Regions from separate parts of the Homo sapiens genome. Here all the other regions are linked to region 6. The links are contacts of gene promoters, found by promoter capture Hi-C in blood cells and fetal thymus (Javierre and others, 2016). All regions are on one chromosome and are shown on one strand. Each heading gives the region's core, a stretch centred on a gene start or on the middle of the fragment in contact. The rest is flanking DNA. Distances are from core to core; before and after follow the strand shown. Region 1 has its middle 39 kb from the start of PTH1R. Region 2 overlaps KLHL18 (kelch like family member 18). Region 3 overlaps SETD2 (SET domain containing 2, histone lysine methyltransferase). Region 4 overlaps KLHL18 (kelch like family member 18). Region 5 overlaps KLHL18 (kelch like family member 18). Region 6 holds the start of SETD2 (SET domain containing 2, histone lysine methyltransferase).

Evidence for each region. The method cuts DNA at HindIII sites, captures the fragments that hold promoters and counts their contacts. A CHiCAGO score of 5 or more calls a contact.
Region 1: a contact is called between a fragment that was not itself captured here and the fragment with the promoter of SETD2 in region 6, in 1 of 17 cell types (neutrophils). The highest score is 6.2, in neutrophils.
Region 2: a contact is called between a fragment that was not itself captured here and the fragment with the promoter of SETD2 in region 6, in 2 of 17 cell types (naive B cells and total B cells). The highest score is 7.3, in naive B cells.
Region 3: a contact is called between a fragment that was not itself captured here and the fragment with the promoter of SETD2 in region 6, in 1 of 17 cell types (endothelial precursors). The highest score is 7.3, in endothelial precursors.
Region 4: a fragment that was not itself captured here is called in contact with the fragment with the promoter of SETD2 in region 6 in 5 of 17 cell types (megakaryocytes, endothelial precursors, M2 macrophages and 2 more); the score reaches 6.3 in megakaryocytes.
Region 5: a contact is called between a fragment that was not itself captured here and the fragment with the promoter of SETD2 in region 6, in 4 of 17 cell types (megakaryocytes, erythroblasts, naive CD4 T cells and 1 more). The highest score is 5.9, in megakaryocytes.

Annotation. Positions count from the first base shown.
Region 1 is chr3:46,914,835-46,919,024 of GRCh38, reverse strand. It overlaps the pseudogene BLVRBP1. Among named protein-coding and RNA genes, the nearest start is that of PTH1R, 39 kb to the right of the region's middle. The HindIII fragment of the contact is 4,758 bases long and covers 26-4,190 here.
Region 2 is chr3:47,293,731-47,297,897 of GRCh38, reverse strand. All of the region lies in intron 1 of KLHL18 (kelch like family member 18), which reads right to left. Among named protein-coding and RNA genes, the nearest start is that of KLHL18, 13 kb to the right of the region's middle. The HindIII fragment of the contact is 200 bases long and covers 2,660-2,859 here.
Region 3 is chr3:47,020,358-47,024,557 of GRCh38, reverse strand. All of the region lies in intron 18 of SETD2 (SET domain containing 2, histone lysine methyltransferase), which reads left to right. Among named protein-coding and RNA genes, the nearest start is that of NBEAL2, 43 kb to the right of the region's middle. The HindIII fragment of the contact is 1,916 bases long and covers 1,694-3,609 here.
Region 4 is chr3:47,342,492-47,346,591 of GRCh38, reverse strand. KLHL18 (kelch like family member 18) reads right to left here. Exons shown (of 10, transcript NM_025010.5): 9 at 3,762-3,873; 10 at 1-3,037. The coding sequence ends at 2,651. Among named protein-coding and RNA genes, the nearest start is that of PTPN23, 36 kb to the left of the region's middle. The HindIII fragment of the contact is 8,623 bases long and covers 1-4,100 here.
Region 5 is chr3:47,314,148-47,317,932 of GRCh38, reverse strand. The region is part of intron 1 of KLHL18 (kelch like family member 18); the gene reads right to left. Among named protein-coding and RNA genes, the nearest start is that of KLHL18, 33 kb to the right of the region's middle. The HindIII fragment of the contact is 1,155 bases long and covers 890-2,044 here.
Region 6 is chr3:47,161,722-47,165,387 of GRCh38, reverse strand. It overlaps SETD2 (SET domain containing 2, histone lysine methyltransferase), which reads left to right and starts at 1,275. Exons shown (of 21, transcript NM_014159.7): 1 at 1,275-1,534. The coding sequence starts at 1,464. KIF9-AS1 (KIF9 antisense RNA 1) reads right to left here and starts at 1,018. Exons shown (of 7, transcript NR_033373.1): 1 at 791-1,018. RefSeq lists silencers at 773-822, 873-1,622, 1,673-1,982. The HindIII fragment of the contact is 4,411 bases long and covers 1-3,232 here.

The DNA.
Region 1 (4,190 bases), core at 1,155-3,654, 250 kb after region 6:
ATGTAGATCCTACCTGGACAAAGCTTTATTCATATCAGCTCTCAAAGAATTCTCCCTGATAAAGTTTCAAGACATATGAGAATCTTAGGGCCTACTCAGTGACCCTGGATGGACAATGACCCTCAAGGATCATCCCCAAACATGACCTGGGCCACTTCATGATGTACTGCCTCACCGCTGCTGAGTATGATGGGCACAGCACCTGTCCCTCCCCACAGTGCGACTAGGAGTCTGGCCCCATGTAGGACGATAGCTTGCTGGGAAATGAGCATCAAAGGAAGGGAGCAATACATTTTGAGCCAAGAGCTTTAAGTTATTTTTAAAATAGAAAAGAGAAACGAACAGGTTGCAGAAAAGCTCATCAGACACACAAGGTAACAGAGCCTCAGGTGCAAAATAACCAACATCGAAAATCACATGGTAGAACCAGACTTATGAAGACTTCAGACATCAGAATTATCAGCCATGGAATTTAGGTATGTTTAAAAATTACTTAAGAACTAAAAGATGTGAACATAGGAGCAGATTTGCAAAAGAACCAAACCAGTATTCTGGAAATAAAAAATACAGTAGTCTGGCCCCCACCCCTGGCATCTCCAATTTCCCTTTCTGTGGTTTCAGCTACCTGTGGTCAACCATGTCCGAAACTATCACATGCAATAAGATACTTTGAGAGAGACCACATTCACATAACTTTTATTACTGTGTATTGTTATAATTGTTTTCTCATTAGTTATTGTTAATTTGTTACTGTGCCTAATTTATAAATTAAACTTTATCATAGGTATGTATGTAAAGGGGAAACACAGCATATATAGGGTTCAGTACTCGCCACCATTTCGGGCATCCACTGGGGTTGGAGGTCTTGGAACATCCCCCCATAGATAAGGAGTGACTATATAGCACTATAGTGTATTATGGCAATTAAAAACCTTGTATCTGTGAATTAGACAAAGGTGAAGAGACAATTAGTGAATGGGAAGCTAGATCTGAAGTTTTCCAAAATGCAGCCCAGCAAGATAAACAGTGATAATGTAAAGCAAGTGGCTGAGAGACATGGAGAGTAGAATGAAGAGATCCAACGTAAAGTGACGGAGTTCCAGGTGGGAAAAAAAAAAAATGAAAATGAGGCAGAAGCAATATTTAAAAACTGGCTGAGAACTTTCCAGAAAAAATCACCAATTCACAGATTCAAGAAGACCAGTAAGTCTCAGGCAGGTTAATAGGAAGAACTATACATCCAAATGTTCTGTTTCTTCATCTGGGTGATGATTAGGTATTTTTACTTTATGAATATTCATTGAACTGTATACATGTTTTATGCCCTTTTTGTATGTTTATTCTAAGTAAGCAAATTTACTTAAAAAAATTCTACACTTTTTATTAATCATCAGTTGCTACACATAAATTACCCAAAACTCGGGGGCTTAAAATAACAAACACTTATTACCTCAGTTTCTGTGGGCCAGGAATCAGGAGTGGCTTAGCTGGGTAAGTCTAGCTTGGGGTCAGTTGTGAAGCTGCACTCATCTGAAGGCTGGACTGGGGCTGGAGGATCTGTTTCCAAGATGACTCATGGGGCTGTTGATTGGTGGCCCCTGTGTCTTGCCACATGGACCTCTCCATCGGCCTGTGTGTTCTCAAGACATGGCAGGTGGCTTTCCCAGAGTGGCAGTCTAAGAAAGAAGGCAGGAGGGAGCGTTGTGGGGCTTTCTTATGATCTGGGCTTGGAAGTGATATTCTGCTACATTCTGTTTGTTAGAAGCAAGTCACTACGCCCAGTCGACACTTAGAAGAATTAGCTTCCACTTCCTGAAGGGAGGACTGTGTAAGAATTTGTGGACTTATTTAAAAACTACCACATACCTAATCACATTGTAATAACATTAAAGAGCACAAAGACCAAGAAAATACCTTAAAATCAGAGAGAAAGGACATACTACCTTTTGAGGAGCAACATAGCAGCAGATATCTCAGCTATAACCAGTGTAAACAGGAATGAAAGAAAGTTGTCATCCTAGAATTGCATACTCAGGGAAAATATGAGACGTGTTTTTTGTTTTTTTGCAGAGATGGGGTCTCACTATTTTGCCCAGGCTGATCTTGAACTCCTGAACTCAAGTGATCTGCCCACCTTGGCCTCCCAAAGTGCTGGGATTACAGGCCTGAGCCACCGCACCTGGCCTAAGATGTTTTTAGACCAACGAAGTCAGGGATTCTGTCACCAGCAGACTCTCACTAAATGAAAATCTATTTTGGGGTAATGAAAATGTTCTAAAAGTGATTGTGGTTGCACAAATCTGTGAATATGCTGAATATGCCAAGAGCCATTGAATTGTACACTTTAATGGGTGGGCTGTATATGTATAAAGTTGTTTTTTAAAAATGAAATAAGCATTCTCCTTTTAAAAAAATCATAAAGGATATTTTCAGACTGAGGGGCACAATCCCAGATGGAAAGTCCAGAGAAAGGAAGTATAAATGTAAATAAGCACTGACCTTGTAAAACAAAAATGTGTTGTGGGGTAAAGCAGGGGCTATTTAGAATACATAACAACAATGGTATGTAAGTTCAGAGGTAGGAGGTGGTTGGGGTTACAGTCCTTGAAGACGCTCACTTAGGAAGAGGGATAAGACTAGGAAACAGGCCTCTTGACATTTCTGGGGTAACCTGAAAAGAGTAGAAACAGAGTGTACCACTTTCAGAGGAGATGAGAGAGGAAAAAAAAAAAAAAAAACCAGAATGGGAAAAAAGTAACTATCCAAAAGAAAGCAGAGAGAAAAGGTGGATTGAGTAGTTGAATCCAGATATATCAGTAATAGCAAGGTATTAGACTGCTTTTCTTTCTTTTTTTTTTTCCTTTAAACTCAGTTTGCTGAGTTTAAAAAAACCTGAAGCCGACTGGGTGCAGTGGCTCATGCCTGTAATCCCAGCACTTGAGAAGGCTGAATTTGCTCGAGTCTCAGGCAGATTGCTTGAGCCCAGGAGTTCAAGACCAGTCTGGGCAAAATGGTGAAACTCCGTCTTCTACAAAAATAAAAAATAAAAAAATTAGCCAGGCGGGGTGGTGCCTGCCTGTAGTCGCAGCTACTTGGGAGGCTGAGGTGGGAGATCATGTGAGCCTGGGAGTTCTGAGCGACAGAGTGAGACCCTGCCTCATAAATTAATAGAAACAAAGATTAATGGGACTAGAAAAGCTCTATCAAGCACAGGATCAACAAAAGAAAGTGGAGGTGGCAGGAGTGAGGCCAGGCAAGGGAGACTTTCAGAAGTGTCATTAGCTACACCACTGTACTGTGGAGCAGTGGGACCTCTCACCCACAGCCATAAGAGTGTGAAATGTGTAACCACGTTGGGAAAGTTGAACATGTGCACGCTGGGACCCATCAGTTGCGCTCTTAGTGCACTAGAAAACTTGCACATGTACACCAGGAGACAGGGACAGAAATGCTTGTAGAAGCATTGTTTGTAATAGCACGGGCACATGTGTGCACACACACACTAAATCAAAGCCAGAATGTGGTAATAATAAGTTGTCATTCTGAAAGTGTGATGTTCCATAGCTGTGAGAAGAGCTACAGTCATGTGCAACAAATGGATAGATGTTGAAAGAAGCAAGTCACGGAAGAAATAGAGTATGAGCCATTTGTGTGACGTTCCAAACAGGCGGAGTGAGACAATGTAAGGACACACGCAGGTGGTAAGGCCAGGGCAGAAGAGCAAGGTGGTGATCGTCAACTTCAGGCTTGTAGTTAGCTCTGGAGTGGGGCCCTTTGAGATAATGGCAAAGTGTTTTTCTTGGCTTGAGTGATGGGAATTTATTCTCTATATGTATTTATTTTTATACAACTTGCTGTATATGCTGTATTTCAACACACAGGCTTATTTTTTTTTCTATCTATCTATCTATCTATCTATCTATCTATCTATCTATCTATCTATCATCTATCTATCTTTATTTAGAGATGGATTCTCTGTCACCCAGGCTGGAGTGCAGTGGCACGATCTCAGCTCACTGCAACCTTCGCCTCCCGGGCTCAAGCAGCTCTCCAACCTCAGCCTCTCAAGTAGCTGGGACTGTGGCTGTGTGCTACCGTGCCTAATTTTTTTTTTTTTTTTGTGATGAAGTCTTGCTCTGTCGGCACGCTGGAGTGCAGTGGTGCGGTCTTGGCTCACTGCAACCTCCGCC
Region 2 (4,167 bases), core at 1,510-4,009, 130 kb before region 6:
GTGGCACTTGGTACAAGCGTCCACTACAGCACACATTATATTGTCCCTAATGAATGTCTCTCCATCCAGGCTGAATATTCTTCCCAAAGAAAGGAAGGTTATATCCTAGTACTTAACACAGTGCCTCATACTCAGTTGTACTTAATGAATTCTAAAGCCTATTTCATCTAAAAATAGGCTTCATCTGAGATACAAACAAGTAACAAAATTTCTGATGAATTTTACCTCTTCTTTTTAACTGTTGACCTTCTGGCTCAGGACTGGCAGAGCTGGTCAAAGTGGGAGCTCAAAGGTGGAAAAGCATGACCTTCTCATCTCATCTGAAAATTCAGTTGGCTGAAGTAAAAAGCTCAAGAAAAAGATGGTGAGGCTTAGGGTCAATTTGTGGAGGGCCTGACTCCCAGGGTAACAGTGCATTCCCAGTCCTGAAGAAATAAACAGACCACACTAGCTACTTTGTGGGTTTCTAACAAGATGGCATATAAGGAAATGGAAGTCAGGGGGATTCTTTCACCTTCAATGCTGATGGCCTGACTGCCAGCCTAGAATACGGACAGAGAGACACAGGTTCATATAGTACTACCACAAGCAGAAATGATGAGTCCTCATAAACTCTTGGGGTTAAGAAACTGATGGCAAGTATAATAAAACATACTGGGCTCAGTCTGCAGTTTTCGATAGCATTTTAGAGCACACTCTTTGAACACTCTGTGATGGAGTTTTGGTCTCTCTGCTTTAGAGTGCCCCACTGGGTAGTGACACAGGAAGGGGGTGAGGAAGGAAGTAGCTGACCAGCTGACACTAAAAAAGGACTTGGGGCTCCAGTCCCATATGAACAGCTGGCTAAAACATTCAGGCTGCTTCCCACTTCTTCTAAACCCTCCCCCCACTTCCTACTACTCAGATCCAGCAAGGTAGAATGGGAGCAGAGGAAGGGAGAGAAGTGGGCAGAGTCCTCAGGAACCACTGAACATGTAACTATACCAACTTCAACTGATTTGCAGGTGTTTCTTAGCAGTCTAGACTCCTCACCATGAAAATTTAAGGAGTACACAGTCTGTACTCAATCGACCTCTCCAATCCCACCTTCCACCTTGCTCCTCTATGTCTTACTTATTTAAGAAACACTGTAGGTGTACTTTCATGCCTGGGCCTCTGAACACTCTCCCCTGGCCTGGAATGCCTCTTTCCACTGTGCCTGTCTGTCAAAGTCCTATTCATCTTGCAATGTACCAACTAAATACCATCCTTTCCATGCAACAGTCACAAACCCTCAGAACTGTAAATATCAGCTACTCCTTTGATGTTCCCTTAGGCCTCTGGTGATGCCTATGCAGTTACAGAATTTATCAGACTCTGCCTTTTCTCATAATTATTAATAATTGATGCATAATCTATCTTCCCCACTCATCTATAAATGCCAAAGACAGAGGCTGACTCCCATTCACAGCAGGGTGTCTCATGCACCTACAAGCACCAAGCACAGGTAAATGCACTTATATAGTATGTTGACTGAAGAAGCATCTCAAACATAAGGTCAGGGGTTAGTTAAGGTAATTCAGTAAATACTTTTAAGTGCTTGAAACATGCTAAGAACTATACTAGGTAAGAGATGGCTCACGATTCAGGAGTTCAACATCTAGAGGGGAACAAAAACACTCGAACCATCTACATCCTGCTCAGACCAGTAAGGGGAGTAGGACCAATGTGTGGCGGCAATGCTTCTCAAACTTTAATGTGCACAGGATGTAAGAAGCACCAGATTCTAGTTCAGTAGGTCTGGGGCGGGACCTGAAATTCTGCACTTCGAACAGGCCCCCACCCAGGTGATGCTGACGCTATTAGTCCAATGACAACACTAAGTAATGAGGGGTTAAGGTGCAGTGGAAGAGGGGGAGATGAACTACACCTGGAGGGATATGAGAAGACTGTCTTCAGAGAGATGGGACTTCACACAACCCCCCACTGTGATAGGACAGAGCACAAGAAAGAGGGCATGGGTCCCTTTGAGAAAAGAAAACTTTGAAGGGGCCGGGCACAGTGGCTACACAGCACTTTGTGAGGCCGAGGTGGGAGGATTGCCTGAGGCCAGGAGTTCGAGACCAGCCTGGGCAACAAAGCAAGACCCTGTATCTACCAAAAAAAAAAAATTTTTTTTTAAATTAACTGAGTGTGGTGGCAACACACCTGTAGTTCCAGCTACTCAGAAAGCTGAGGTGGGAAGATCACTTGAGCCCAGGAATTCGAGGTTACAATGAACTATGATTGCACCACTGCACCAGCCTGGGCAAGAGCAAGACCCTGAAGAAAGAAAAAAGAAAAGAGGAGAAAGAGAAAGGGAAAGGGAAAGCAAGGGAAGAAAGAAAAAGGAAAGAAAGCAAAGGAAGAAAATATGGAAGAAAGCTTGAAGCATGGATACGGCTCTGCTTGGCAGATGTGAGCAGATACTCCAAGCCAAAGGAACACTAGAGCAAAGGCCCAGAGGAGGGGGAACACAGTCATGGAGAGATGGCCAGCTGATGCAAGAGGACACTGTGGGAAAGCAGGGTAGAATAGCAGAGAGGGGCCACATCTGCAGGACTCTGAATATCAAGAATACAGCTGGCAGTCTTAGAGAAGTCAACCAGAATGGCTGTCAACAACAGAACATGCTTAAGCTTCTCCCTCTGACGTCTGAGACAGCAGTGACTGGTGGATTTCTATGAGCAGCTTAGAATAATCAGAGATTCAGTTAAATCAGCAGTCCTTTCCTAAATCCTACAGAAAACTAGCCACCACCTGCTGCTCCTGCATTCCCATTACCCCTCAGATATCGTGATTACTTAAAATGCTAAGCCATATACACGGAAAACACAAGCTTTCTCAAACATGAGGTAGAGGCACGTTTTACAACCACCAAGAGCTGAGCAGCTCTGCTCGACTCACGGCTCCGCTGACAAGTTTCTAACCTCTGATTGTCACTGTGTGCAGAACAGAATTTCCTTCAAGAACAAGTCAGAATTAGTCTTCTGGCTCCGGCCATTATCATCATCTCTCCTAAACCGAAGGGGAAAGTGCAAGCAAAACGCAGTGCTGTCTTCATGAACCATGGAATATGCATCCTAACTTTCTATTACCTTAGGTATACCTCTAACACCCTGCCCTGATTTTTTATTCATAAATACATAATTATTGATTGGTTTCATTCATTCATTCACAACGTATTTACTGAGCCATACCATACACATGCAAGGAACTGTGCTGGGCTGGGTGGCTACTTCTCTGACCTCGTGTCCTTCCACTTTTCTCCTTGGTCACTCTGCCCTTATCATTCTGGCTTCTTGCTGTTTCCCCAAAACACCAAGTGTGCTCCTGCCTCAGGGCTCCGTGCTTACTGTTCCCTCTGCCTTCAGATATCCTCATGGATTGCTCCCTCACTTCATTTAGATCTCTATTAAGAGAGGCTGGCTCCTGCTTTACTTTTCTTCATGGCACTGGTCACCACTGGACATCTTCCATCTGTTTATTGTCTGCTACTCCACTAGGATGTAAGCTCATACTCAAAAAGGCTTGGCCTACTCTGCTCACTGCTGCACCCTCAGCACCTAGAACAGTACTTGGCACATGGAAGGTGCTGACATACCTGCTGAGCACCCTGCTGAATGAAAACGAAATGAGAAGCCACTCAGAGCAGAATAAGATCAGAATTAAGCCTGGGGAAAAACAATCTGTTAGTAGCTCATTCCCTACAATGAAATCTGTTTTTCCCTAGAAAAACAATCTGTTAGTAGGCTCATTCACTAGAAGGTCGGTAAGAATTCTCTCAACATGCTAGTAAAGTTAAAGAAATCCTGGGTTAGGTAAAAGATGAAGAGGATCTCAATTAGGACAGTGGTTTACTGAGCAGCTATTATGTAGATACCTCAGTAAATAATTCAGTCACAGCCCTGCTCTTGTGGAGTTACAACACTATAAATAGTTATGTAATTACTATTGTAATAAGTGTCACAAAATACACATAAGAGAGGATGAGCCAAAGACAATCCCAGAGTTTCAACTGTGCACGACTAGATGGATTGTGTGCCCCCCTAACACAGAGGAAACAAAAGATGGGCAAGGGTGTTCACTTTAGACATAATGAGTATGAGGACCCACAGGACAAATGGGGTAGAATTATAGGTTTGAAAG
Region 3 (4,200 bases), core at 1,402-3,901, 140 kb after region 6:
GCCTCAGCCTCCGAATTAGCTGGGATTACAGGCATGCACCACCAGGCCCAGCTAATTTGTTTGTTTGTTTGTTTATTTGTTTATTTGAGACGGAGTCTCACTCTGTCGCCCAGGCTGGAGTGCAATGGTGTGATCTTGGCTCACTGCACCCTCTGCCTCCCAGGTTATAGCAATTCTCCTGCCTCAGCCTCCCAAGTAGCTGGGATTACAGGCGCCTGCCACCACGCCTGGCTAATTTTTCGTATTTTTAGTAGAGACAGTGTTTCACCTCGTTAGCCAGGCTGGTCTCGATCTCCTGACCTCGTGATCCACCCGCCTCAGCCTCCCAAAGTGCTGGGATTACAGGCGTGAGTCACCACGCCTGGCCTTTTTGTATTTTTAATAGAGATGGGGTTTTGCTTTTTTGGCCAGGCTGATCTCAAACTCCTGGCCTCAAGTGATCTGCTCGCCTCGGCCTCCCAAAGTGCTGGGATTATAGGCCTGAGCCACCACATCCAGGCTATATAAAATTTGTTTAAGAAATAAATAATGTTGAAAATTTCCCATCTTGAGAGAGGGAAATAGGCATACGGATTCATGAAGCCTAAAGGATCCCAAGTAAAATCAACCAAAAGAAGAATACCTTGAGACACATTACAGTTGTCACTCTGTATCCATAGGGGATTGATTTCAAGACACCCTATCATGGATGCCAAAGTCTAAAGATGCTCAAGTCCCTTATATACAAGGGCGTAGTGTTTGTATGTCACCTACGCACATACTCCCATATGCTGTAAATCACCTCTGTGTTGCGTATAATACCCAATACAATGTAAATGCTATATAAATAGTGGTTATACTGCATTGGGGTTTTTTAAAATTGGTTCTTATTTGTATTATTTTTATTGTATTTTTTTTCAATATTTTCTATCCATGGCTGGCCTACAGATGCAGAACACCAGCTGTACTAAGTTTTTATTATTTTCAATGATCTTAACCTTTTAAAAATTGACATGTACAGGTTCATGTGCTGCAGAGCTTAGGTTGAATTGTGTGGATAGTGTTTATGATGGCTCAGCTTCTCCTCCTGCTTCTGGATTCATGCTGCCACAAAAGATGTAGTTCCTCACTGAATGATTTACATTTTATGTTCTAAACAGTATTTTTTTTTTCTTTTTTGAGACAGAGTCTCGCTCTGTCACCCAGGCTGCAGTGCAGTGGCACGATCTCAGCTCACTGCAGACTCCACCTCCCGGGTTCAAGCAGTTCTCCTGCCTCAGCCTCCCGAGTAGCTGGGATTACAGGTGCACGCCGCCGCGCCTGACTAATTTTTGTATTTTTTAGTAGAGACGGGGTTTCACCATCTTGGCCAGGCTGGTCTCGAACTCCTGACCTCATGATCCACCCGCCTCAGCCTCCCAAAGTGCTAGGATTACAGGCATGAGCCACCGTGCCCAGCCCTCTAATCAGTATTTAATTAAATACAGGGAGAGAGAAGTATTAGCTGGGTATGTCCTGCTCTGCCTTTGTCAGGACTCATTTCTGTAACTCAAGCCATACCCTCTTGGTTCCAAGTCACATGGGCTTTGTGACATAGTCATGTCAATATTTATAATAAAGGGTGATTCTGTTGTGTTACACAGCCTGTGTATGGTTACCAGAACTGCCCAATAAGCTTAAGGCCATTGCCAACTAATCCAGAAGGTCTCAAGCTTCACCTTGGGTAATATAAAGGTACTCAGGCCTGCCTTGTCATAATCAGAACAGATTTCCTAGGAATCCAAATGTGCCACAGGTGAAGGCTGACAGCAGGGTCAGCTTCTAAAGGCAGTAAGCTCTGGCTTTCTGCCAGGCCCTTTGCCTGCTCATTTCATTGTGTACTCTTAACTGTCCACGGCCTCACATAGATTTCCACCAGAATCTTTAATTGACTGATACTCTATATAAGCCAACACAGAGAAAAGGCAAACTGATTATTGTTTATTGCTGAGGATCTGGAAGCACTCGCTTTTTTATGTATCAGAGCCCCTACCCTGTTCTCTGGTGGTTTCCTTAAAAGTGCTTTTTTTCTTTTTGGAGACAGCATTTCACTCTGTTGCCCAGGCTGGAGTGCAGTAGCATGATCACAGCTCACTGCAGCCTCAACCTCCTAGGCTCGCGCAACTCTCCAACCTCAACCTCCCAAGTAACTGGGACCACAGGCATAGCCACCATGCCCAGCTAATTTTTCAGTTTTTTTATAGAGATGCTGGTCTCGAATTCCTGGGCTCAAACAATCTCCCCATCTTGGCCTCCCAAAGTGCTGGGATTACAGGCATGAGTCACTGAACCCCACGTGCTAAATTTGTGTGTGTGTGTGTGTGTGTGTGTGTGTGTGTGTGTGTGACAGATTGTTGCTCTGTCTCCCAGGCTGGAGTGCAATGGCATGATCTCAGCTCACTGCAACCTCCACCTCTCCCGGGTTCAAACGATTCTCCTGCCTCAGCCTCCCAAGTAGCTGGGACTACAGGCACAAGCGATTCTCCTGCCTCAGCCTCCCAAGTAGCTGGGACTACAGGCACGCGCCACCACGCCCAGCTAATTTTTGTATTTTTAGTAGAGACGAGGTTTCACCATGTTGGCCAGGATGGTCTTGATCTCTTGACCTCGTGATCCGCCCTCCTCCGCCTCCCAAAGTGCTAGGATTACAGGCGTGAGCCACCACACCCAGCCTTACCTGCTAAATTTTTAAATGGGACTTTTTTGGAGTGGGGGGTCCTAAGGTTGTTCATGTCAATAACAAGTGCTGTCCTCAACTCAGACTCTGGTTACTTTGCCTGGCATTAGATTTGAGTAAATGTTAGCCAGTTTCTGAAATTATTTCCCATGCCATTTGCAAATCACAGACCATGAAGAGAGGGTTTCATGAATTTCAGTACTCTCAAGAGTATTCCATTTTGGTTCATGATTTCCATGATGTAAGTCTGGGGACCCCTCATTTTATCATTTCCTTTCTCGATCCCAATTGCTCAGCACTCAGGAGGACCAAGAAAGCTCCTAGACAGAGCTCAGTGGATTGTATTCTATAATTGTGTTTTTAAAGGCCACCCCCCACCAATCCCCCGCCAACCTCATCAAGTCAGGGATTAAATTATAAATCTATTAAAAGTGCTTTGGGTTCATTTAGCTTTGTGAGTGCATACCCTATCCAGAGTGAAACAGGACATTTCTATTTACATAGTACCCTCGCTGAGAGCATGGCCTCTTCTATAGGACCCAGATCTTTGAGATACCCAGACCTGAAGGGGCTTTCTGTACTCATTTCTGTTGCTGCTGACTTCTGAGAGCTACAAGAGAGTAGCTGGGGATGTGTTGAAGTTTTCTTGACTTACTCAAATAATTCTTGATCCCTTGCTACCTAAGGTCTTACTGTGGAGCATACTCATACCATCTACAACTGGGGGAAAAAAAATAACAAAATCCCAAAGCAAAACACTTGAAAATAGACTTAACTTATATTATTAGCATTATTTTTGCTTAGTTTTGTTTTCTTAAAAAACAAATTGGATCTTTATATTCTTTTTACTCTACCCCCTAATCTCCCCATACAGCTACATGAAGAAATTGGAAAAATAGAAAATACGTAAAGCTTTTATGACACAGCAGAGAAAGTTGATTTGTAACAGCCTAAAGCCAAGGGAGTGCCACCTTTCTCTGGAGCTAGTCCAGCTGCTTTAGAACCAGAGCCTTCATACTGTTTATGGAAATGGAAGAAGCAGAACCAGGAGATGGGTGGGGAGCAGGAAAATTATTCTACCCTGTGCCCCTAACAAAAAAGTGTGAAGTACCTATAATATCAACTCCAGCTTCTAGATCCATTATGAAGTAACTTATATTTGGAGGGGAATGCTCATAATTATTATTTTCCGTGGAAAAGCACATTTACTGGGAAGGGGCCTGATGGCTAGTGGTGGGCAAAGGTATGGGGAGATGGCCTGCATGACAGGTGCTCTGAATACCAAAGCTTCCAACTCATCGCCTCCTGGTGCAGTACCTAGTTAGAGGGAACTTGGAAGCCTCCCTCTAGCAGTGCTGGAAGGGAATGTTCCTGGGTTTGTCATTATCTTGCCAGCTGGGGACATAGAGTATCTTCTGTGTCATCATCTACTTATCTGTTCACTGGCTTTGATGACCTTCATCACCTCCCCGTCAATATCGTGATACTTCCTTAATCTTTCTGTT
Region 4 (4,100 bases), core at 274-2,773, 180 kb before region 6:
GGACAGTGAATGCCACAGTCCTCTGCTCAGAGCTGGGCTAGGCCCCAAGGCCCACTGAGTACAATGTCTACCCTATCTCCTTGTTACATCCTTTTTACAATATCCTTGGGTGATGCTTCTTTTCATGGGGCTATTGGAAAGGCTCCAACACCAAAGAGCCAGACCAGCCATTTACGAATAGCCATTCACCATCGGACTGAGGAACCTACTGGGAGAGTGTGAATATGTTGGTGTTTCCTGACTTGTGCTCAGAGCCCAGATCAAAACACTGGCTTGATCTTACTTTGAAACATCGACCTCAGGTGCAGCAGTGTAAATTCTACACCAGGAGGTGGGATTGGACTCAGGAAGTCCACTACAAGAGCAGCAGGCCATGGTAGAAAATGATCTGCCATACCCAGTGGCAAAATCTGGGCCAGTATCCTAAGGACCCACTCAGTAGCCCACAGACCGATTCTTAATACCTTCACAATCCAGGCTTGTTGGTGCTACTTCAAATTCACAAAAGAAAGGGGCTTATAATAAGACAAGCACTGATACACTCCTAACAGGAAATGCACACCCCACCCACCTTCCGAGTCTACCCCTACAGGCAAACCAGGAAGGAGGGAGAAATGCTGGAGCCCTACCACGAGCCCAGGTTAAACGACATCCGATATCAGATTGTTGAGACGTTAAAAATAAAAATATCATTTTCAAGTGCTTGTAGCAGAGGCCTAGCTCCTAAGTTGTAGGTAACAAAGGTACTTCCCTCTGAATACATGGCGATTGCACACACTGGTAAACCTGACGGTCCTGGGGTGGGGGAGACACCCCAGGCTCCACATTGTGCCTTTCTGAACAGGCTTCCAGGCCACCCCAGGCAGGCAGCAAAGGATAGGAAACCAAGCAGGTGGAGACTGGAGCCCTAAGACTCAGTCTTGGGTTACAGGAATTGAATCTTCTTTTAGTCTCTACTGGAAGAATTTTAGAAAACCAATTTTGGCAGCAGCAGTTGAAGGACAGCCCCACTGCCCAGTGCACTGGCAAGAGAAAATGTCCTCCTCTTTGAGTCCCGCTGTGCTACATTAGGTCCTATCCAGGGAGGAGGAAGCAATATGAAATCTTTCCAAAAGGTAAAGGTCATTTGCCAAGATTAGAGGAAGAAATATAAAATCTGTTCTTTGCAGCAGCAAGAGATTCTTTCGGCCTTTAGTTCTTTATGTCATAAAAGCCAGCTGTGCTTGAATGTAAAGGTCCACCTTGCTGGTCAGTCTGCCCAGGGCTGGAGGGAGGCCAGACTCTTGGGATTGGCGAGTGGATGGAGGAGCAGTGGAATGGCAGAGCAGACAAGGTTACCAGACCAAGCCCGCCCACAGCTGGTAGAAGGAAGCCCTGGTTAGGTTCTAGAGGTGCATATGGTCAACGTGCCCCAGAAGCATCACAATGAGGGAAATCATCCAAGAACGAGATTGATGGGCAAGTGAGAATCTGGCCAGACCTGCTGTTTCCTGCTGGTCAAAAAAGGAAGCAATGTTAGTGAGAGTGGGGAATCTGAATGAGCGCCATGGTGGCAGTAGGAGGTAATCACAGGGGCGCCTGGAGCCCCCAGCCACAGCTAGGAGCCCCCACCAAGAAGAGTGGCAGTAATTCAGCAGATAGCCTAACTCTCTACGCCTATGATTTTAAAAGTCCTCTGATGGTGGGTGAGAAGACAAACCCCATGAGCACCTTACTACAGGCCCAGTCAAGAGTGCACTGATTCCACACACACTGGGGCTCAGAGGGAACCCCCAGCTCAATGCGAGGCCTCAGGACCCTGGGATCCGAATGTGGGGTGGATACCGCCCTTCTCCAGTTAGACGATTTTCCATTTAAACATAGATTTGCCGTTAGTGTCTTTTATGCTTTTTTCTTCTTGCAAAATTTGTTCACATAAAAAAATTATTTTTCTTTCCAGTTTCTTTCAAGTGTTTCTTTGTTTAAATTTCCTTCAGTTTCTTTCAAGTATCTTTTTTTCCCTTCTGTTCTCCTGGACAGATCAAAAGGCCTCACTGAAATCCCAAAATTAGACATGGGGAAAACTTCTCTTCTCCCTGCTTACCCAGCAATGAGGACAGAATCCTTGGTGCCCCACTGTGGAAGAAGGAATGTGCCTGTGTGCAGCCTTCCACTGCTGTGGCCACACCATCTCAGGCAGGGAGAACGCTTGGGTCTGTCCTTTCGTCCCCAGCTACATCCCAGTTTCCAGCAGGCTTGGACACTGCAGCCTCCCCATGGCAAATTGGCCAGACTCGGCTGGAGAGCAAGCAGGCGATGGGGAGCATCAGATGGAAGGCCTTCTGTGAACAGCTGGCCCACAGAGAGGCGGTGGGTAGGAGCTGGGCCTGGATGGAGCCTGTGTTCATGTGGACCAGAAAACAGTTCCATGTCACCAGCTGCAGGATCCAGAGGAGCTTGTGTTCCATGCTGTGCATCTTGATGACCCAAGCCTGAAGGTCACAAGGGTGGCACAGTGGGGGAGGGCTTAAGCACCTGGAAAAACTGTACCTCCGGCGAGCTCACGTTTCGCCATCTCTTCTGGTCCACTGCCTCTCCTGAGGGACTGTTCCTGGAAGGAAGCGCCTATGTCTGTACCAGATCCCTGCCCCACCACATCCCATCCTCTGCCTTAGATGGTGAGGAGAGGGATGCAGCCCACACCGACCCCTCCCTCATGGCACGCCATGGGGGCCATGAATGTCCAGCAGTCTGTCTCTGGGTCATACATCTCCACTGAGCTTAGGTTTGACTGTCCGTCGTAGCCCCCAACAGCGTAGAGGCGCCCACAGCTGGCCACCAGGGAGACCCGGCTCCTGCGCGTGTGCATGGGGACAATCAGGCACCACTGGTCTGCCACAGAGCTGTACATCTCGGCAATGCTGAGGAAGCCAGAGCCATCGTAGCCCCCGCAGACAAACATCTTGCTCCCCAGGGAGGCGGCTCCGTGCCGGCAGCGCTTGTTGAGCATGCCAGCTGCAGGGTGCCAGGTGGCTGTGTGGTGGTTGTAGTGTTCCACCTGCAGTGGGGAGAGAGGCACAGGTACAGGACAGTCAGAGGCAAAGCTCAGTCCATGGAGTGACCGTGCAGGGCACAGCAGCCCCCCATGATGTCAAACTCCTGTGGGAGGTATGGGGACAAGGAGCTCTCCCAGTATTCCCTCTGCTGCAGGCCTGCTCTTTGGTGTATGGGGACAGGGAGAGGTCACCTCACCTAACCCTTTCTGTTTGCATCTAAGGAAACAAAAAGGATGTGCCCAAGGATGCAATGCTAGGTAGTGACAGAACCTGTATGAGAGCTGGGTCTCCTGTAATCTCCAGGGCTCTCCACTGCAGCACTGACTGACTATGGAATGACTAGTAAATGGCTGTTGAGCCTTTTTTACAGAATAAATACAATTTCAAACAAATTATCCAAAAGAATACAACTGTTTGCAAATTTACACTTGGTCTATAACTGAACTTACTTTGGGCAGGAATCTCACAAGTTCTATGTAGTGTTCAACAGACAGTAGAACAGGGTGGTGGCTGCAGATGTGACTACCCTTTGCCCTTCTTTTGTGTACACTGGCTCATTCTCTGGAAGTTCAGAATTTCAGAAGGTGCAGTGGATAGCCTGAAACCTCACTAGATGATACTTTATTCAGCTGTGGCAAGGCTGAAGTTTTTTCAAATAATGATCTTCTAAAATAAATCTCAAAGACAGAAGTAGGTACCCTTATCCCAGGGGGAGCCCAGACTCACACTGCTGAAGATCTGCAAACCATCATGGCCGCCTGACACATATATCCTGCCCTCAAAGACTGTAACCCCAGCAGCACTGCGATTCGAGCTCATCGAGGTCACCACTGTCCATCTTCAGGAAAGAGTCAAAATAGGAGGGGAAGCATGAGATTCAGGGTTCTTGTTCCCTCAAGACAGCCTAGCAGGGTTTAGGTGAACTGTGCTGGCCATCTCTCCATCTCTTATCACCTCTCCCACCACCTCTCTGACAGTTCTCCCTGGCTGCCGCCTCTCACCCAAGCTGCAAACCCACAGCCCATCTTCTCTGCTCATCTCCATGGCTGCTCAAAATCATTGTCT
Region 5 (3,785 bases), core at 218-2,717, 150 kb before region 6:
CGTGCCACTGCACTCCTGCCTGGGATGGAGTCTCAAAAACAAAAAAGTCACAAATTTTGGGGTAGTTTGTTATGCGGCAAAAGATAACTATTATATTACTAATCTAATTCCTATTATGGAAGATTAAGAATTTGTCCTGATACCTTTCTTCATGTACTATCCCCTACACTCTCCCTATCTTTCCAATATAATTAGGTCAAATTTTGGTTAAATTAATATGAAGAGTTGCATTAAGTCTATGTAAATATTATTTGTAGCCAAGCCATGCTGTATACTGTCAGTATATATTTCCTTTTTGTATAATTTTTCTTTTCCCTAGAGCATAAAACTCTGGTTAATATATTCAGTCAGGTACTCTATCAGTTGTTTGTTTTAAGTTGTCTGTTTCTTGAGACATTATCTACTGGAACTCTTCCTGGGAATTCTGTTTCCCTCACCTATACTAACACCCCCGTTTCCTGAACCCCACGTAGTCCTCTTTCTTATTTATTCACTTGTTCTGGTAGAAAGTGTCTTTTAGGCTGGGCATGGTGGCTCACACCTGTAATCTCAGCACTTTGGGAGCCTGAGGCGGGTGGATCACCTGAGGTCAGGGGTTCGAGACCAGCCTGGCCAACATGGTGAAACCCCGTCTCTACTAAAAATGCAAAAAATTAGCCCAGCGTGGTGGCAGACACCTGTAATTCCAGCTACCCGAGGTGCTGAGGCAGAAGAATCACTTGAACCTGGGAGGCGGAGGTTGCGGTGAGCAGACACCGTACCACTGCACTCAGCCTGGGCAAGAAGAACGAGATTCCATCTCAAACAAATAAAAATGTGTCTTCTAGTAGAGCCTCATAAGAAGGGGTCTATGTACAATGTCTGAAAATGTCTTTACTACCCTCAAGCTTAGATAATAATTTAGTTGGTTAAAAAATTCAAAGTTTAGACTTTTTTCCTGTCAAAATTTTGAAAGTATTGCTCCATTGTCTTCTAGTTCTTTTGTTTTTAGAGATGGGGTCTTACTCTGTCCCCCAGGCTGGACTTGAATTCCTGAGCTCAAGCAATCCTCCTGCCTCAGTCTCCTGAGTAGTTGAGACTATAGGCATGCTAGTGTGCACCTGGCTATGTTTAAAAATATATATATGTATATATATACACACATATATATGTATATATGTATATATACACACACATATACATATATACGTATATATGTATATATACACACACATATACATATATACGTATATATGTATATATACACACACATATACATATATACGTATATATGTATATATACACACACATATACATATATACGTATATATGTATATATACACACATATACATATATACGTATATATGTATATATATACACACATATACATATATATGTATATATGTATATATGTATATATATACATATATATGTATATATGTATATATATACATATATATGTATATATGTATATATATACATATATATATATTTGTACAGACAGGTCCTGCTTTGTTGCTCAGGCTGTTCTCAAACTCCTGGCTTCAAGCAATCCTCCCACCTCAGCCTCTCAAAGAGCTGGGATTACAGGCGTGAGTCACCACACCTGGCCTAGTTTGTTGTTATTGAGAAATCCAATGCTATTTTGAATCCTAACTCTAAGTATGTAACTGTGCTCTCTAGAAGCCTTTAGGATTTTCTCTGTATTCTTGTAGTTCTAAAATTTCACAGTATTGTATCTTGGTATTGGTTTTCTTTTATTGTGCTGTATCAATCTACAGACATTATTTCAGTTCTGGAAAAATCTCTTTACACCATTTAATCCTTGATAATTTCCTCCCTCCTATTGTAATTTTTTCTCCTCAGAAATTTCTATTAGTCAGGTGTTAGATTTCTTGGAATAATCCTCTAATTTTCTTATTGTTCTTCCTCACTTTCCATCTCTTTCATTTGGTCTATCAGTGAGGAAACTTCTTCAACCCTATCTTACAATCTTTCTGTGTTGTAGGTTTTTATACTGGCTATCATATTTTTAATTTCCTAGAGTTCTTGTTTTCAAAAGCTTCCTTTTTAAAAGAATCCTGTTCATCTTTCATGAATGCAATATTTTCTCAAATCTCTCCTGAGACAGTATATAGTTACAACTTTTTTTCTTCTTTATCTCTCTGCTTTTACTGTTTCCTGAGATATTTTCTCTTCCAATTGTTTTGATCTCTGTCTTCTATGTTAGAGGTTTTCTTTAAATGTCTGGTGACACTTGGCTAGGGGGTAGGCTTGTTGATTTGTGGGCTTCACATTAGGGTGATCAGGCAAGAATCGGCCATTTGATTGAGGACCCCTAGAAGTATTCAGTATCTTCAGGACTTTTTCTCTGGAGTTAATTTTATCAGAGCACGATCTTCCAGTCTCTTGCAGGGAAATATCTGTCGGCCTACAGATATTCTGGAAACTGGGTCTAAGAGGTGGATGGTTCTACCATGCACTACTGATAACTCTTATCTTAAAGCCCTTCTTTTCAGTTTTGTTCCATATTGCACCCTTTCTCCTATGCTTGGTGTGCCTGATTCGGAGCCTCTGGTTCAGTATCTAAGACTAAACTTCCTATCTCCTGAGAGAGTGGGGGAGGGGGTGCAGGCATCTAATTGCCTTTCATACAGACTTCCAAGTAATCTTCCTGTTTTCAGTATTTGGTGTCTCCAATTCTGGAACAATTCCAGGGTTCTACACTAGAAATCCTCTTCCTTCTCAGTTTCTCCCCCGGGAGGCACTTTCAGTTCCTCTGGCCCACTAAGTCTTCCACACATGCTCTCTGGCTTTAATATTCCATTGATTTCTCATTTGCTGATATGTCTTTCCCCTCTTACTACTATTTTAATGGGGTTATGGAGGGGAATGAAAGTTAAGTATGTGTTCAACTGGCTGTGTTTAACTGCTGTGCATTTATTTTTCATCTAGAAAATAAACAGAAGACAAAAGAACAAGCTGTATGTGCACCAACAGAGTGACCTGGTTTCAAAAAAAAACCAGCTACAGAGAAGATAGGCCTATCTTGGGATATGTTAGCCTGATTACATTTGAGTTCTGTATTCAGCTAAGGGGAACAACAAATTGGACCTTGTCTAGATGAGGAAGACCAAGATGGGCAAGAGTCTGAAAGCTACATCTTATAAGGAATAGCTAAAGGATAGTCTGGAAAAGGTAATTTAGGAGGAACCTGATAGTTGTTGTCAAATCCTAGAAGGGCTATCACATGGATTAGGGCAGATCTAGAAAATTACAGGAAGGCAGATTTTCTTTTATCATAAAGAATAAGAGCTAAGTGCAGGGCGCGGTGGCTCATGCCTGTAATCCGAGCTCTCAGGGAGGCAGAGGTGGGAGGATAGCTTGAGCCCAGGAGTTCGAGACCTGCATGGGCAATATAGCGAGACTCCGTTCTTCACAAAAAGGAAGAAAAAAAAAAAGACAAAAAACAAATAAGCGTAAGAATAAGAGCTAAGAACACTTAGCGGGGTCCTGGACTGGTTTCAAAACTATTAAGTGACTACTTAGAGGCCTTCCAATTCTACAATCCTGTGATACTACATTTTTGTGAAAAGCTTTTAAAAACCCAAACACTCTCATTTGTAATCTCAGTTTTTACATGTCTCATTTTTTGCTGGGCACAGTGGTTTATGCCTTTAATCCTAGCTCTTTGGGATGCTAAGGTGGGAAGGTTTCTTGAGGCAGGGATTTTTAAGACCAGCCTGGGCAACACAGCAAGACCTCATCTCTACAAAAAACTAGCCAGGCATGGTGGTGCATGCTT
Region 6 (3,666 bases), core at 26-2,525:
GCGTACCTGGAATTACAGCCGTGCGCCACCACGCCCGGCTAAATTTTGTATTTTTAGTAGAGATGGGGTTTCGCCATGTTGGCCAGTGTGGTCTGGAACTCTTGACCTCAGTTACTCCGCCCGCCTCGGCCTCCTAAAGTGCTGGGATTACAGGCGTGAACCACCGCGCCCGGCCCACTTTCAGTTTTTAACCACTGTTTCTCAATTGGAAGACACATCCTTTCCTTTCCGTTACCAATTGCTGGTAAAATCCGATTCAAAATTCTAGTGGAAAAACAACAGCAACAACAACACAAAAAACGCTAACCCTATGAACCCCCAATGTCAAAATGATCTATCGCCAAAAACTCTTCAGCGTCTAGAAAGTTTAGCTATTGGATTTACGCGTTCCTATCTCTCCTTCCAAAAATAACAACTCGTAGCTCTTTCAAGTTATTCTACTTAGTCTCATCTTATCATTTCTGTAGGAAAGTGATTAATACCCTTTTTTTCATGACATTGCCTCTAAGGCCCCAAGAACCACACAGGAGAGGGGAGCTGCCGCCTTGGAGACTTCGGGTGGGGGCAGAGCGCCGCGCCGAGGTGGAGGTAGGAGCCCCGAGGGCACAGCGGGAAGGAAGGCGGAGGAGGCTGCCGGGAGCTCGGCCTCCGAGCAATCCCCCGCCTCGCTGGGCTTCCATGCTTGCTAAAGGGTCGAGATGAACGGGCAAGGGAGAGAGAGGGCGAGGAAAAATAAAAAAGAGAGGGGCGAGTGGGACGAGGGGCCCGGGAGCAGCCGCGGCCGCGTTACCTCAGAGCCCAGAGGCCTGGGGGAGGGGCCCTCGGCGCTGCCGCGGACTCCGGGGCTCCCGGCGGGCAGGTCCTGCAGGGCCGCGGAGCGAGAAGGCTGATGTCTCGGGTGTCTCGGGGAGTTCTCCCGACGTCGCCTGCTGTTTGTCAGTCGCCAGCTGTGACACGGTAGCGGGCCGGGTCACGCTGCCCCCGGCCGCCAGGCGGGTTGCGGGAGGGGTCGCGGTGCCGCCTCTCCAGGTCCGGTCTGGCCCACATCACTGGGGCCGGGGGTTTATTGTTCCGGAGAGCCACAGGCACGGTCGGCCTGGACCCGCCGGGCAGTGTTCCGCTCTGCCCGTCCCGGCCTGGGGTCAAGCCAACAGCTGCAAGGCACGCCGACTGGCGGCAGATCGGTGGCCCGTGTGTGTCTCTTTAAGGGGCCGGGCCTGCGAAGCTGAGGGGCGGGTGGGGTGTGCGTCGCTCCCGGTGTGAGGGTGAGAGGGAGAGAGCGGCTGGCGGGCGTCCGAGGGAGGGAGGGAGCGACGAGCGAGGTAGCGACGCGGGCCGCCCCTGCCGCCGCCGCCGCCGCCGCCGCCGCCGCCGCGGTCGGACCTGCGGCCTCCTCCCCTCCCCTCCCCCGCGTCGCCCTGCTGCGGGGAGGGGGCTCGCGTCGCCGTCTCCAGCCGCTCCCGATGAAGCAGCTGCAGCCGCAGCCGCCTCCGAAGATGGGGGATTTCTACGACCCGGAGCACCCGACCCCTGAGTAAGTATCAGCTCCGCGGCCCCCCGCTGCTGTCGGCCGCCTTATCCCCAGCCGAGGGCGGCGCGTCCTGACGGGTGGCGGCGCGGGCCGGCGCGAGGAGTAACAGGCCCACGGTGGCCTCGCGCGGTCGGTGTCGGGAGCAGGCCCGCGCCGCCACTTCGAGCCGCTTGGCCGGGGCCGCAGCAGGCCCGCGGTTGGGCCCGGCGTTGGCGCCGCTGCTCGTGTCGCGGCGGCGGTTGGGCCGGGCCGGTGGGGGAGGGGCGGCCACGGTCCCTACGGTTACCGCCGTGTCCGCACCGACCCGGCCATCCCGGGGCTCGGCGGTCCTCTCGGGCTCCTCGTGGCTCGTCCGGGCCCCGCTGCTAGCCAAAGGGCAGAGTCGGAGGAGCTGCCGGTGCCGGGCCCGGCAAGAGGGCGCCGGTGAGGGTAGGCCGCGAATCCCCGGGCTCGGGTGGAAGCTCGACCCGTCGCCCGACCTCCCCGCGACGGCGGCGCCTCGGACCGGAAGGGCCTAGCGCGGGTTGCCTGGCCCCCGGGCCGTGGAGGGGCCCGCGCTGCACTCCTGAGTTTGATTTTTTCCTCCTGGGAACTCGATCCTGGCCTTGCAGTGCTTCCGGATTCACATTGTGCACCTTTGGCACTTGGGTTTTGTAATGGCGAGGTTTGTGTGGTCCCGTTGTTGAGGTGACACCGGGTTTGTTTTTCCGCTTGAAAATGAAAGCCTCCTGAGGGACATACATTTTCTTGCAGGTTGTGAGATTTTCACACTTTCGGACACAATTTTCTTGGTAACAGGAATCTCTTACCCTAAACGGATGACTTTCTATTTCTTGTGAAGACTTGGTTAAAAACCAAGAATCGTTTGAGGATTCTCTAAAGAAGACAATGTTGTGGAAAACCGACACACAGTTTTGCCCAATAGTAATTTTTCAGTCTAGGACACCTTTACATTTCTCTTGAGGTCTGAATCTGCTGCTGTATCTGCTATCTCAGAAAGCCTGGAGTCACTTCTTTCCCTGAACCCTCACGAGACCATTGTTTTGAAAAGCCGTTCTTAAACACCGTTTGCTGGTGTTAGACCTAGGAATATACTATTGATTTAAAACTTATCGGTTGATAGGGGTTTCACATGAAACTGTCAAACTTTTATGACCAGGATGATTCCAAGAGCTTTGCTGTTTTGACACATTTTACCTTAGGTTTGCTCTGGCTCGTTTTTGAATCCCTTGCCACATCTTCTCACATTGGTCCAGAAATGTCTGGATCTTAATTGATAGTTTTGATTGCAACACAAACGGATTCTGTTGAGGTGTTGGTCATTTCTGCACAACAAGATAAATCATTATTTTGCTTTTCTAAAAACCCAACTCTTACTTGCAATAGTAAGTTAACATGGCTTTTTCCTTTCATGGGTTCTTGGCCATTGGTTAACATTACCTTAATTAGATTGGTCTTTTTGTTTTGCTACTGGCAGGGTCAGTTAGGTAAGATTGTTTTGATTTACTGCACCATCAGTCCAATTACAAAGCTCATGTTATAGGTTTTTAGTTTGAAAAACCTCAAAAAAAATTTTATATCACGATTCAATAAATGCTTATATAGCACTTGCTCTGTACAAAGTAACATGCTAACCCCTGAATAGGCTAAGTGCCTGCTTTCACTTCCTTTTACCAGGTTGTTTGGTGAAGTCCGGAAGCTTTAAGGATCACATCCTTACACTTCTTGGGGAAAAACAATTTTTCATAATATGTGGGAAAATGGACTCAGAAGTGCATCTTTGGTAGACCTGAGTGGGGAAGGAATCAAGAATGTTTTATGGTTTTACATGTTTTGGAGTTTTTATTTTTATTGCTTTAATGTAGTAGAAATCCACTGCTTTGGATTTCTAACAGTGATTATATATTTTTAAATTCTCGTGTATTTTTTCCTTTTTTTTTTTTTTAGAGGCAGGGTCCCACTCTGTCACCCAGGCTGGAGTGCAGTGGTGTCATCATGGCTCATTGCATCCTTGAACCTCTGGGCTTAAGCAGTCCTCCTGCCTCAGCCTCCTGGGTTGGGACTATAGGCATGTGTCACCACACCCAGCTAATTAAAAAAAAATAAATTACGTTACTGGTTTTGAATCCCTGGCC